3 separate regions of the Homo sapiens genome follow, and regions 2 and 3 are each linked to region 1. The links are contacts of gene promoters, found by promoter capture Hi-C in human tissues and cell types (Jung and others, 2019). All regions are on one chromosome and are shown on one strand. Each heading gives the region's core, a stretch centred on a gene start or on the middle of the fragment in contact. The rest is flanking DNA. Distances are from core to core; before and after follow the strand shown. Region 1 holds the start of AURKB (aurora kinase B). Region 2 has its middle 14 kb from the start of CYB5D1. Region 3 holds the start of KCNAB3 (potassium voltage-gated channel subfamily A regulatory beta subunit 3).

Region 1 (3,766 bases), core at 754-3,253:
CACAGTGAGGCTCCGTCTCAAAAAATAAATAAATAAATAAATAAATAAATAAATAAATAAAAAATAAATAACCTAAGTAGGCCTAAGATAAGGGGCAAAGGACTCACACCAACACCTAACATTTCACTTCTTTGGCCCTGGCCCACACTTTTCAGGCATGAAGCTGTTCAACCTGTATAAGTCCTGTCCATAACAACACAGTCATTCATCCAGCCCCTCACTTACACCACAGTAGAGAGCTGCGTCAATGAACACCCACAATTCAAGGGGTTTAGCACAGAGGTATTCTCAAAGTCTCCTAAAAAGCTTAGTTTATTAAGGCTTAGATAAGATGCTTGAGGCCTTGAATGTTATAGCAATAACCAGGATTTACACTTTTGCAAGAACAGGCTTTAAGGACACTAAGAGCTACCCTGATGGCCCTGGACCACTTCTCACTTTCAACTTCTTCATTTTTTTTTTTTTTTGAGATGGAGTCTCGCTCTATTACCCAGGCTGGAGTGCAATGGTGCCATCTCGGCTCACTGCAACCTCCACCTCCCAGGTTCAGGCAATTCTCCTGCCTCGGCCTCCTGAGTAGGTGGGATTACAGGCACATGCCTGGCTAATTTTTGTATTTTTAGTAGAGACGGGGTTTTACCATGTTGGCCAGGCTGGTCTCGAACTCCTGACCTCAGGTGATCCACCTGCCTCAGCCTCCCAGTGCTGGGATTACAGGCGTGAGCCACCTACCTGGCCTCACTTTCAACTCTCAAAATAATAGGTACATTTTCTTTTAGGAGTGACTAAGGTAAAAGTGACAATGGTTTCTCATTCAGACTCCATTCCTGACAGCCTCACTCAGTGCTCCATGAGGGAGGGAGCTGATGTACAAGGGAACAGACAGACTCTCCAGGAAGCAAGAGCTCCAAAAACAGGGAGCAAAGCCTGTGCAGGGCCCCTTCCTTCTTCTGCAGCCAAGAGAAGAAAGCCCCTAGGCCCCAAATAGTGATATTGGTACCAATCTACAAATAAGCAAGTTGAATAAAATACAGTCCAGAAATAGACCCACATATATGTGGGAATTTATATATATAATAAAGGTGGCATTTCAAATCAGAGAGGAGGCCCTTCAATGAAATCTGTCTGGACCATTGGGAAATAAGTCAATTTAGATCCATTTAGATTCTTACCTCAATTTAGTCATTAATTCCAAATTGTAATTTAGACTTGCCCTGGGCCTTTTAAACTGTAACTTTATATCCTTTTAGAGTCTATTTCTATTTGCTGTCTAGTTTTTTTTTTTTCAGGATATGGATTGGGAATCATGGCCTGAAGGCCAGGCCCTGCCTGCTCAGTCCCAGATATCATTTGTATGTGACGAGCCCTGCAGAGGTCCTCACCAGCTGGGAGTCACTGGCTGGTCAGATTCACGTTGGCAGCACCTGACAGGATGTGGCTACAAATGACCAGAGCGGGTTCTGTCGTCAAACTTGGGACCCGTACTTTGGAGCATAACGGGGAAGAAAGTGCTTAAAGGATTGCTCATTGCAGGATCTCAAGTTTCCCAGCAGGAACTCGCCATGCGGGGTCATGGGGGCGCAGGGACGGAGGGAAGGGCCTTACCGTCTGTCGGCCGTAGGGCCAGGGGTAGGAGTTCTCCTTCTGGGCCATCCTTAGAGAGAAAGGGGGAGGAGAGCTGGGCGGAGAAGGGAAACAGCCGTGAGAAGCAGAGAAAAAGAGAGAGAGAGGGAGGGGTTGGACCGATCGAGCCGGAAGCGCTAGCCCGAGCTGGTAAAAGGGAGCAGGTCAGCACACTAGCCCCAATCTGGGCGCTGGTCTCACCGCCCCCGCCCTGCTATCGTCCCTACCTCCTTCCAGCCCTGCGGCGTGCGCGCAGGCCAGCCCAACGGACCCTCTGATCTACCTGATCATCTGCCCACTCCCGGCGCAAGGCCTGCGACAGGAGGCCAGCTCACCTGGGGTCCAAGGCACTGCTACTCTCCCGGCCGCCCGCAAACAACTGAATCTGCCACGCCGCGCCCTGGCCAAGGACTTTTCAAATCTCCCGCCCCGGCCCCATTGGGCAAGCTCGTCGCCCATGCCTAGTTCCCATTGGCTCGATGTCCTGTGACGTAAGTCATGGGAACCCAATGGAAGAGGCGGAATGAGAAGGGCTCACGCTTGGCTTCCAGTTTAGGAAAGTTTCCCCAAATTCCCCCAGTGAATTATCTTGCTTTTTCTTTTCTTTTTTTTTTTCCTTTTTTGAGACAGGTCTCTCTCTGTCGCTCAGGCTGGAGTATAATGGTGCTATCTGGGCTTGCTGCAACCTCTGCCTCCCGGGTTCAAGCGATTCTCGTGCCTCAGCCACCCGAGTAGCTGGGATTACAAGCGCCCGCCACCACGCCTGGCTAATTTTTGTATTTTTATTAGAGACGGGTTTTCGCTGTGTTGGCCAATCTGGTCTCGAACTCCTGTCCTCAGGTGATCCACCCGCCTCGGCTTCCCAAAATGCTGGGATTACAGGCGTGAGCCACCGTGCCCGGCCTTCTTCTTTTTATAAAAAAAATTAAATCTTTAATGTAACTGGAGTTTATCCTTATGCATGTATGAGCTGGGGTCTAACTTCTCTGCCCGATGGAGCGCCAGTTATGTCAACACCATTTGTTAAACAAACTGCCCCAACAGAATTTAAATGCTGCCCTTGATATATAATGTTAGCATATTTACTTGTGTCTATTTCTAGACTTTGTATTCCGTTGTTTGCTCATTTGCCTGTGTGTTTATTCTTGTGTCATTACTATGTCGTTCTTAAAAGTTCTGACATTCCTGGGAGGAGTTTTTCCACCAATAGACCTTTCGTTGCAAGATCTCTGTTAGCTGCCGTGTTGTTTGGGCCCACTTTCATTTTTCCTCCTTCCTGCCACACTTCCTTCTTTTCTGCTCTTCCTAACCCTCAGATTTCATTACTGGGTTAAATAAATACATTTTTGGGCCTTCTATGAAATAACCAGTGGATATTTATTAAGTATGTACTGTCCAGCACTCTTCTCCTTTCTTCTAACACTCTATTTTTCCTTTAGGGGACCACCTGTCTCTCCAGTCTATGCAGTCGGTTTCTGTAGTAGTTTCTGTTGCTGACAACCCCAAATCCCTAGGTTGATGAAGACCTATTTAAATCTCACTTTTTTTTTTTTTTTTGAGATGAAGATTCGCTGTGTTGCCCAGGCTGGAGTGCAATGGCACAATCTCAGCTCACCACAACCTCCTCCTCCAGGGTGCAACTGATTCTCCTGTCTCAGCCTCCCGAGTACCTAGGATTATAGGTGCATGTGACCACGCCCGGCTAATTTTTGTATTTTTAGTAGAGACGGGGTTTCATCACATTGCTCAGGCTGGCCTCAGGTGATCCGCCCGCCTTGGTCTCCCAAAGTGCTTGGATTACAGGCGTGAGCCACTGCGCCCAGCTTTATTCCCACTTCTGAAAGCACTTAGAGTTTTGAGGATTTGAGAAGGAAACTGACTTCATTGCAGGTCCAGAAATGAGCCCCAATTAACTTATACTAATCAATACCTTTTATTCCAGATTATGGTTATTGGATCAGGCATAAGCCTGTGATTTAAGTGGGCCAGCTAGTGGGAATCAGTTTCTTGCTCAGAATGCTGGGCAGCTCAAGGAAACACTTAACGTTTACTGGTTTATCATAAAGTGTATTACAAATGATATAGATGAAAAGATGTATAGGGCAAGGTATGGAGGAAGAGATTTCTGGAAGTGAGCAGGGAA
Region 2 (3,766 bases), core at 771-3,270, 340 kb before region 1:
GATAGTTAATCAGCTGGGAAAAGTGTGCAATTCTGCTGGAACAACTGGGGCTTGAAAACAGATGAAAAGCAAGATACTTCTAGCTGGCCAGCCAACAGAAAACTATTAAGAAATTGTTAAAAAGCAATGTCAAATGGGAAAAAGTTTGGTTTTTGCCATTTTGTATAGGATTATTCAGTTTCCATCACAGTGGTCAATCGAAGAAGATCTACAGCTGGGCATGGTGGCCCCTGTGCTTGTAACCCCAGCTACTCCAGAAGCTGAGGTGGGAGGATTGCTTGAGCCTGGGAGGCAGTTACTGCAGTGAGCTGAGATCATGCCACTGCACTCCAGCCTGGGTGACAGAGGAAGACTCTGTCTTAAAAATAAAATAAAATAAAATAAATTTTTAAAAGCAGATCTAAAAAACTTGCAGAAGGCAAAGACAACAATTACAACAATTTTAGGCTTACATCTTCCTCCTTCTGATTAAGATGATATTCCTTACTCAGTGAGAGCAAGGAAATGGATTTAGCTAAAAGGCAGCAATAGAAGGATGAGCAGACCAGATAAAATCTTTTAATCAATTAAAAAACAAAAAATCTTTTAATCGAAAAGATATATTGCAGTATTTGGGTTCTTTATTAGGTACTGGAGGTACAGAGAACTATTCCATAGCTCAGAAGTTGAGTTACTTCTATTTTAAAATTTATTTATTTTGGCCAGGCACGGTGGCTCACGCCTGTAATCCCAGCACTCTGGGTGGCCGAGGTGGGCAGATCACCTGAGGTCAGGAGTTCAAGACCAGCCTGGCCAACATGGTGAAACCCGGTCTCTACTAAAAAAAATACACAAAAATTAGCCCAGTGCAGTGGTGCACGCCTGTAATCCCAGCTACTCGGGAGGCTGAGGCAGGAGAATTGCTTGAACCTGGGAGGTGGAGGTTTCGGTGAGCCGAGATCGTGTCACTACACTCCAGCTTGGGGGCGACAGAGCAAGACTCCACCTCAAAAAAAAAAAAAAAAATTGTAGAAACGGGGTCTCACTATGTTGCCCAGGCTGATCTTGAACTCCTGGGCTCAAGTGATCCACCCACCCCAGCTTCCCAAAGTGTGGAGATTACAGGTGTGAACCACCACACCCAACCAGAAATTATTTTTCTAAAAAGATGCCACACCATCATATCGAGCTAAGCACATCTAGAAACAAATTCATTATGGCCTCTTAAAGCCAGCTTCTTTCTCAATTGCTATTAACAATGTCCAATTCTTGAGCCATCACATCATCTAATTTTCTTTTTTCAGGTCTACTGTGGTCCATGAGTTTAGGCATAAATGCCCACCTCTCAATAGCTCTGACCTTGAGCAAGATATTTAACCTCCCTTTGTCTGTTTTCTCATCTGTAAAATGAGTATTAGGATACTTTCTACTTTATAAGGTTATTGAAAGGAGTGAGTGAGTTAGTACATATTAAGTACTTAGTTCCTGGATGCAGAGTAAAACTCAATAAAAGTCAGCAATCATCATCCTATTGTTCATCTTTTGTACATATACTTTACTACTTTTGTATTTTTTTTCTATTGGTCTTTTTCTTATTGTTGATTTCTATGACATCTTTATTTCATCAAGAATACAAACACTAGCTCGCTATCTTCCTTTATACCCCCTTACTCCTGCTGTAATACAATACTGGAGTAATCCTGGAGCCAGTACCCGACCCCAGCAGCTTCTTGATCACTGAAGAAATAGGAAGTAGATCTCTGGTGGGCCAGGTCTAAAACGTTCTTCTTTCTTTGAGGTGGAGTCACTCTGTCGCCCAGGCTGGAGTGCAGTGGTGCAATCTTGGCTCATTGCAACCTCCGCCTCCCGAGTTCAAGCAATTCTCCTGCCTCAGCTTTCCGAGTAGCTGGGAATACAAGCACGCACCATGATGCCTGGCTATTTTTTGTATTTTTAGTAGTGATGGGGTTTCACCACGTTGGCCAGGCTGGTCTCGAACTCCTGACCTCAAGTGACCCACCCACCTCGGCTTCCCAAAGTGCTGGGATGGCAGGCGTGAGCCACCAAGCCTGTCCTTACAATCTTCTTGTCACTCTGGAAACCCTGTCTGTAGTTCTTCTTTGGCCCTTCCAATAATTTTGTAAGCCCTGGTTTCCTGGATAAAGTATCTTTCTGAGCTAGAGTAGTTTCTGTTATCTCTGAGCTCTATTAGAGCACACAGTATTTACTGAATAAAATGGTCTGTCATTAATGGCACAAATATTTTCCTAGCTAGTCTTTTAACTTTATGTTTTCTTACACAGTAAAATTTAGTTTCATTGAGTTAAATCTATCCACGTTTTCCTTTAAAGCATCCACGTTGATGCTTGTTGTACGCTTAAGGCCTTTTTCACCCCCAAGATCAGGAAAATATTCACCCACACTTTTTATATCTCATTCTAGTTCTCTAAAAAATTTTTTGGTCTTGCTGAATTGAGCAGAATTACATTTTTTGTTTTGTTTTGTTTTTTGAGACGGAGTCGCTCTGTTGCCCAGGCTGGAGTGCAGTGGCACAATCTTGGCTCACTGCAACCTCCGCGTTCAGGTGATTCTCCTGCCTTAGCCTCCTGAGTAGCTGGGATTGCAGGCATGCGCCACCACGCCCGGCTAATTTTTGTATTTTTAATAGAGACGGGGTTTCACCATGTCGGTCAGGCTGGTCTTGAACTCCTGACCTTGTGATCCGCCCACCTCGGCCTCGCAAAGTGCTGGGATTATAGGCCTGAGCCGCTGTGCCCGGGCAATTTTTGTTTTTAATGTCACTATTTAATCCATCTGAAAACTACTTTAGTAAATGGTAAGGATCTACCTTTTATATTTTCACAAATAGTTTTCCATTTATCAATTATGCATCATTATTTATCAATAATCCTTTGCCCCACTGATTTAAAGTATCACCTTTGCCATATATTAAACACTTGAAGCAGTCAACAGGTATTTCCAGGGTGCCTAATGTGTGCCTGGCCGTGTGCTAGACTGATACGACAGTGGAGAAGGGTGACAGGGCCCCTCCTCTCTGGAGCCTAATGAGAAAGATAAAGGATAATATGGTAGCACATAGGAGGAGCACCTATTATAAGCTTGGAGAGTCAGGGGAGTTTAGTGCATGCCTGCTTACTGTGTGTCAAACACAGTACTAACGACCTTAAAAGGGTAATTCCATTGACTTGGTAATATTAGGGCTTCACAAAAAGACTTATATGTTGCCATTTTAGTTGAAGAAACTGAAACTCTGAGAAGTGGAAGCCGCATATGAACCCAGACCTGTCTCCCAAGCCCAGGTTCTTAAGTACCATGGCTGACCACTAATCCAGACAGCACTGCCTCTTTGAACAGGGACTGACAAGGAGGAGCCAGAGAGGCAAGGGAAAAACCAGGAATGCGAAACTACAGACGTCAAGCAAATTCTTTTTTTCAAAAAGGGGGTGGTCAAGTGAAGAACTAAGAACATCCTCTGATTTTCAGCAACCAGGAGGTTGTTGGTAATTTGGTGAAAGCAGCTGTGGTGGGGGCAGAGGGCTGGAAAATGAGTAGGGAAGTAGACACTGAGGGCAGTTAATGCTTTCAAGAGGCTTGGCTGTGAATGGACACAGTGCGGTAAGGTGGCAGCTAAAGGGGTCCAGAGTATTTCTTTCAAAGATAAGGAGATTTGAGCACATTTTAATGTGACTGGGAAAGAGCAAGTGGAATCGGAAATAAAGGACTGAGTTAGAGGATCGCTGCTAACCATTAGTCCCTGAGAAGGTGG
Region 3 (3,766 bases), core at 809-3,308, 280 kb before region 1:
ATACCCGAAGACCAGACTTCCCTAGGTTCCTGCAAGATACAGAAGCAGCGGGAAGGGGTGGAGCCTCCATTATGGACTTAGATTATCAGCCCCCAGCTCCTCTCCTTCCAGACTGAGAAGCCCTCAGGTGTCTCAGTCCAAAGAAATTAGACCCAGTGGGCCTATAAGATTGGGCAAGTGCTATCTCCAGAGCAGAGGTCCTAGGAATTTTCTCAAAAGGACAAGTGAACCATATGTGACTGTTCCTCTGGAGCCACTGTCCAGAGTCTCCATTCCCTCTTATCACATTGAAGACGTGCAGTCTGGTTTGTCCTTCTTCTGGGGTCTTGTCTGTGTTTGAGTCATCTGTGGGTTGTGTGCAGTGAGGGGCTGGGAGGAATTTTGTTTGATTGTGGTGAGTTTGTGAGACCAGGCCCTCAGGCAGAGTGCTGTGCCAAATGGTAGATGGCAGGTTGGAAGAGGTAAACCAAGTCAAGTTCAGGCATTCAGACAGACAGGGGTCCCTGGCTAGGCTAGGCAGATGGGCCTGGAGGAAAGGCAGATTGAGGACCTGGGGGGAGGGGGGAGAGTAAGACAGAAAAGCCTAGTTCTCCCTCTCCACTCCCTCTGTTCCTATTGACTTGTGAAGACTGTCTCTGAACCAGTGAGCCCCCTCATCCTCCCAAAGCCCCCAACCCAGGTGTCAGCTCAGCTTTCCAATCAGGGCCACCATATAGAGGGGATCAGATTCCTCAGGTGACAAAGCAGGTCAGATCAGTGACCTCAGCTCACTCCCAAGCAGGAGCCCCTCCTCTACCCCCTACTTCAGGTTCTGAGCTTCTGGTCTGGCAGTCCTCTGAGATAAAGTCAGTTACATTTCAGTCTACCCAGACCCTGTCCCTCAGCATGGAGATGAAAAATGTGGTCCATCCTTCCCACCGGCCCCACTCCCCTTGCACCCAAGAAAGGTCGCAGAAGACCTAGCCTTTGGGGCAGGCAGGGGCAGTATCTGGGTCAGGCACCCCGAGCAGGCCAGAGTGAGAAGCTGATTCCCTCCCTCCACTCCCCAGGACACGGACCCAAGGACACTCCACTGGAGGAGGCATAGCCTGGAGATCCGTGTAGCGTGGAGATCCATGCATCCCTGACCTTCCCAGGGGTAAGGAGGGAAGCTCAGGGGCATCCCCTGGGTCTGACAGGACCCAGTCAACCTTGGTAAACTTGATTCTCGTAGTCAGGGGTATCGACAGAAACCAAGAGAGGGACAAAGTGAGGGAGTGCCAGAGACAGAAAGAAGAGATGGAAAGAAGGGAGACCTACTTAGTGAAGTTTGAAGGGGTCTTGGCGGCCATCTCAAGCAGTCTCAGGGGTCCCGAAAGGAAAGCGGAAGGGGTGGGCTGCCCGGCCACCCCCATACCTGTATTTCATGCCAGTGCCTCGGCCGGTGCTCTCTCGGAGGGCCCCAGCGGGCGCTGGGGGTCGGGGAACCAGTGCAGCTCGGGCCTTGGGGCCAGACCCTCCACCCCCCGGAGGATTCCCGTGCCCCCCGCCGGCCGGCCCACCATTACCGCCCCCGGGGCCCGGCCGGGGTCCACACAGACGGTCCTCACTGCTCCGGCTGCGAAGGTTCTGCTCGGTACACGCGATAGACACCTGCATGCTGGCTGGCCGAGGCGGGGGAGGGGGCTCCGAGGGGACGGGAGGGGGGAGCAGGGAAGCCCGAGGGCTGACGACCGGGGGCGTAGTGGGGCGAACCCCGGCAGAGCGGGAAGGCTGAGGAGGCTGCGGCGGGAGCCGCCAGGCAGGATCGGGCCCGCGGGGGCGGGCTGCTGGAGGTCGCGAGGTTTGCGGCGGGAGGGAAGAAACGTGGGGGGCGCCAGGAGTGGAGATATTCAGTTACGGGGGACACAGGAGCAAGGATTAGGAGGGGGAAATGGATGAGGGTAAAGGTCGAGGATGAGGTAAAGGTCTCGGAGGATAAGGACCCAGGGGGAAGCGGGGCGGGAGAGAGATGCCACTTCAGCGCGAACCGCTGCGGGACCCGCTGGGCTCCCAGCCGCGTCGGCAGCGGGCCCAGCTCATCAGCATGCAGGCACCGCCTCCTCATCTGCATAGAGCCGCCCTCCTCTCAGCCAAACCTGCCGCTCATCTGCATAAGCCCCGCCTGCTGAAGGCTCTGCAGCTTGAATATTTTCTGAGCGGAATTGGGGAGGATGGCTCCTGCACCCTCTGGGACCCAAGGGCTGTCAGGCTTCCCCCGGCCCAGTGATTCTCAATCGGGAGGGAATGTATCTCCCAGCGTACTTTCGGCAAGGTTTGGAGATATTTTTGATTTCATGCCTGTGCTATCAGCATCTAGTGGGTGGTGGCCAGGGATGCTAAAATCCTACAAAGCACAGGACGGTCCCCACAATAAAGAATTATCCAGCTCAAAGCATCAATATTCCCACGGTTGAGAAACCCATCCGCAAAGCCACTTCGTGGCCCTCCAGGGGGTGTGGCTGCCCTACTTTCCACCTTCATGCGTGGGGCAGGACTGAGAGGGCCCTCAAACCAACACGCTCAGGCCGCAGAGAGTGACAAAAAGTTTATTCTGTGCTTCTCGCAGCATTAGGCAGGGGATAAAACTGGAGAGAGGGCCTGGTGTGGAGGTGGAGGGACTCTGTGGGCTTCACTCTGGTAGGAGGAGAGCATCAGGGCAGGCCTTTAGGCTGTTGCTCTGGGCAGGGGGTGGGGGTGCGGGGGCTTACAGTGGGGGCCCTTAGTTGGCACAGGTTCGGAAGGGCCCCAGGCAGACATGAATTCTCCTGAGACTTGAGGTAGGTTGCTTCAGCCAGCCCGGGCGGAGAAGAAGGGCAGAGAGCGAACATAGGAGTCCAGTCGGGAGCGAAAGAGCTCACTTTGCACAGTTTGGCCCAGCGGGCACAGGGGATTCTTCACCACCAGCTCCACATACAGCTATGGAAAGGGAAGATGTTAGAGCCAGGCTTTGGATACTTCTGGTTTTTAGCCCCAAACCTTGTATAACCTCAGGGGTGTGTGAATGCACAAGGAATAAGGGCTGGAAGGCAAGCCCTCTCTGAGGAGAAAGTGGTGGTGGGAGTTAAGAACCTAAGGGCCCCTGAGAAAACTCTTGAGTTGAGCAAACATATAGTAGGATTGGGGCAGGGGAGATGAGGGAGTCTTGGGGTTCTGAAGAGCTCTGGGGGATGGGTCCCTGGGGCTGGCACTGACCGCACTGTAGATGTGGTGCAGCACATCTCGGATGGGTCCCACGCCCAAGTCAGTATTCATGACAACTTTGATCCCAGTGGGCGTCTCGTAGTAATGGAGTTTGTAACGGCTAGTTTGGAAGGCCAGGAAGCCATCCTTCCTGCAGAGATGAGGAGGGTGTTAAAGAATGGGAGCAGAATCTCTCCCAAAGAGACACTTCTGATCCCCGCAAACATCGACTCCCTCTTTATCTAAACATATCCTTTGTAGAAGCCTGGTTGAGTAAAGACATCGCCCATCGTCACCCCTCAATTTAGCCCCCACCAACTTCTCTACTTTCAGACCCTCCCCACCCCCACTCCTGCCAGCTCCAGCACTCTCGCTCCGGACTCAGCCTCTCTTAAGTACCCTTTCCCCCCTCTGGAGGCCAATGCTCCTTCCACTTCAGAAAGTTTCCCCCATCCCCAAATTCCCAAGGCTAGCCCTCCTCCCAACATCTTCTCTGACTCCGCGTACATGTCTAGCGGGGACATCTTGCTGACAAACGAGCGGATAGAGAAGAGCATCCCGTACA

Evidence for each region. Contacts are between HindIII fragments. The study calls those that stand out against the background at their distance.
Region 2: a contact is called between a fragment that was not itself captured here and the fragment with the promoter of AURKB in region 1, in 1 of the 25 tissues and cell types used here (thymus).
Region 3: a contact is called between the fragment with the promoter of KCNAB3 here and the fragment with the promoter of AURKB in region 1, in 1 of the 25 tissues and cell types used here (adrenal gland).

What each region holds. Positions count from the first base shown.
Region 1 is chr17:8,208,572-8,212,337 of GRCh38, forward strand. It overlaps AURKB (aurora kinase B), which reads right to left and starts at 2,004. Exons shown (of 9, transcript NM_004217.4): 1 at 1,959-2,004; 2 at 1,606-1,678. The coding sequence starts at 1,653. RefSeq lists enhancers at 1,236-1,895, 1,457-1,506. The HindIII fragment of the contact is 18,109 bases long and covers 1-3,766 here.
Region 2 is chr17:7,869,901-7,873,666 of GRCh38, forward strand. It overlaps a transcript of NAA38 not described here. Among named protein-coding and RNA genes, the nearest start is that of CYB5D1, 14 kb to the left of the region's middle. The HindIII fragment of the contact is 4,268 bases long and covers 1-3,766 here.
Region 3 is chr17:7,927,798-7,931,563 of GRCh38, forward strand. It overlaps KCNAB3 (potassium voltage-gated channel subfamily A regulatory beta subunit 3), which reads right to left and starts at 2,059. Exons shown (of 14, transcript NM_004732.4): 1 at 1,397-2,059; 2 at 1-29. The coding sequence starts at 1,638. TRAPPC1 (trafficking protein particle complex subunit 1) reads right to left here. Exons shown (of 4, transcript NM_021210.5): 2 at 3,709-3,766; 3 at 3,214-3,352; 4 at 2,552-2,937. The coding sequence ends at 2,809. The HindIII fragment of the contact is 19,988 bases long and covers 1-3,766 here.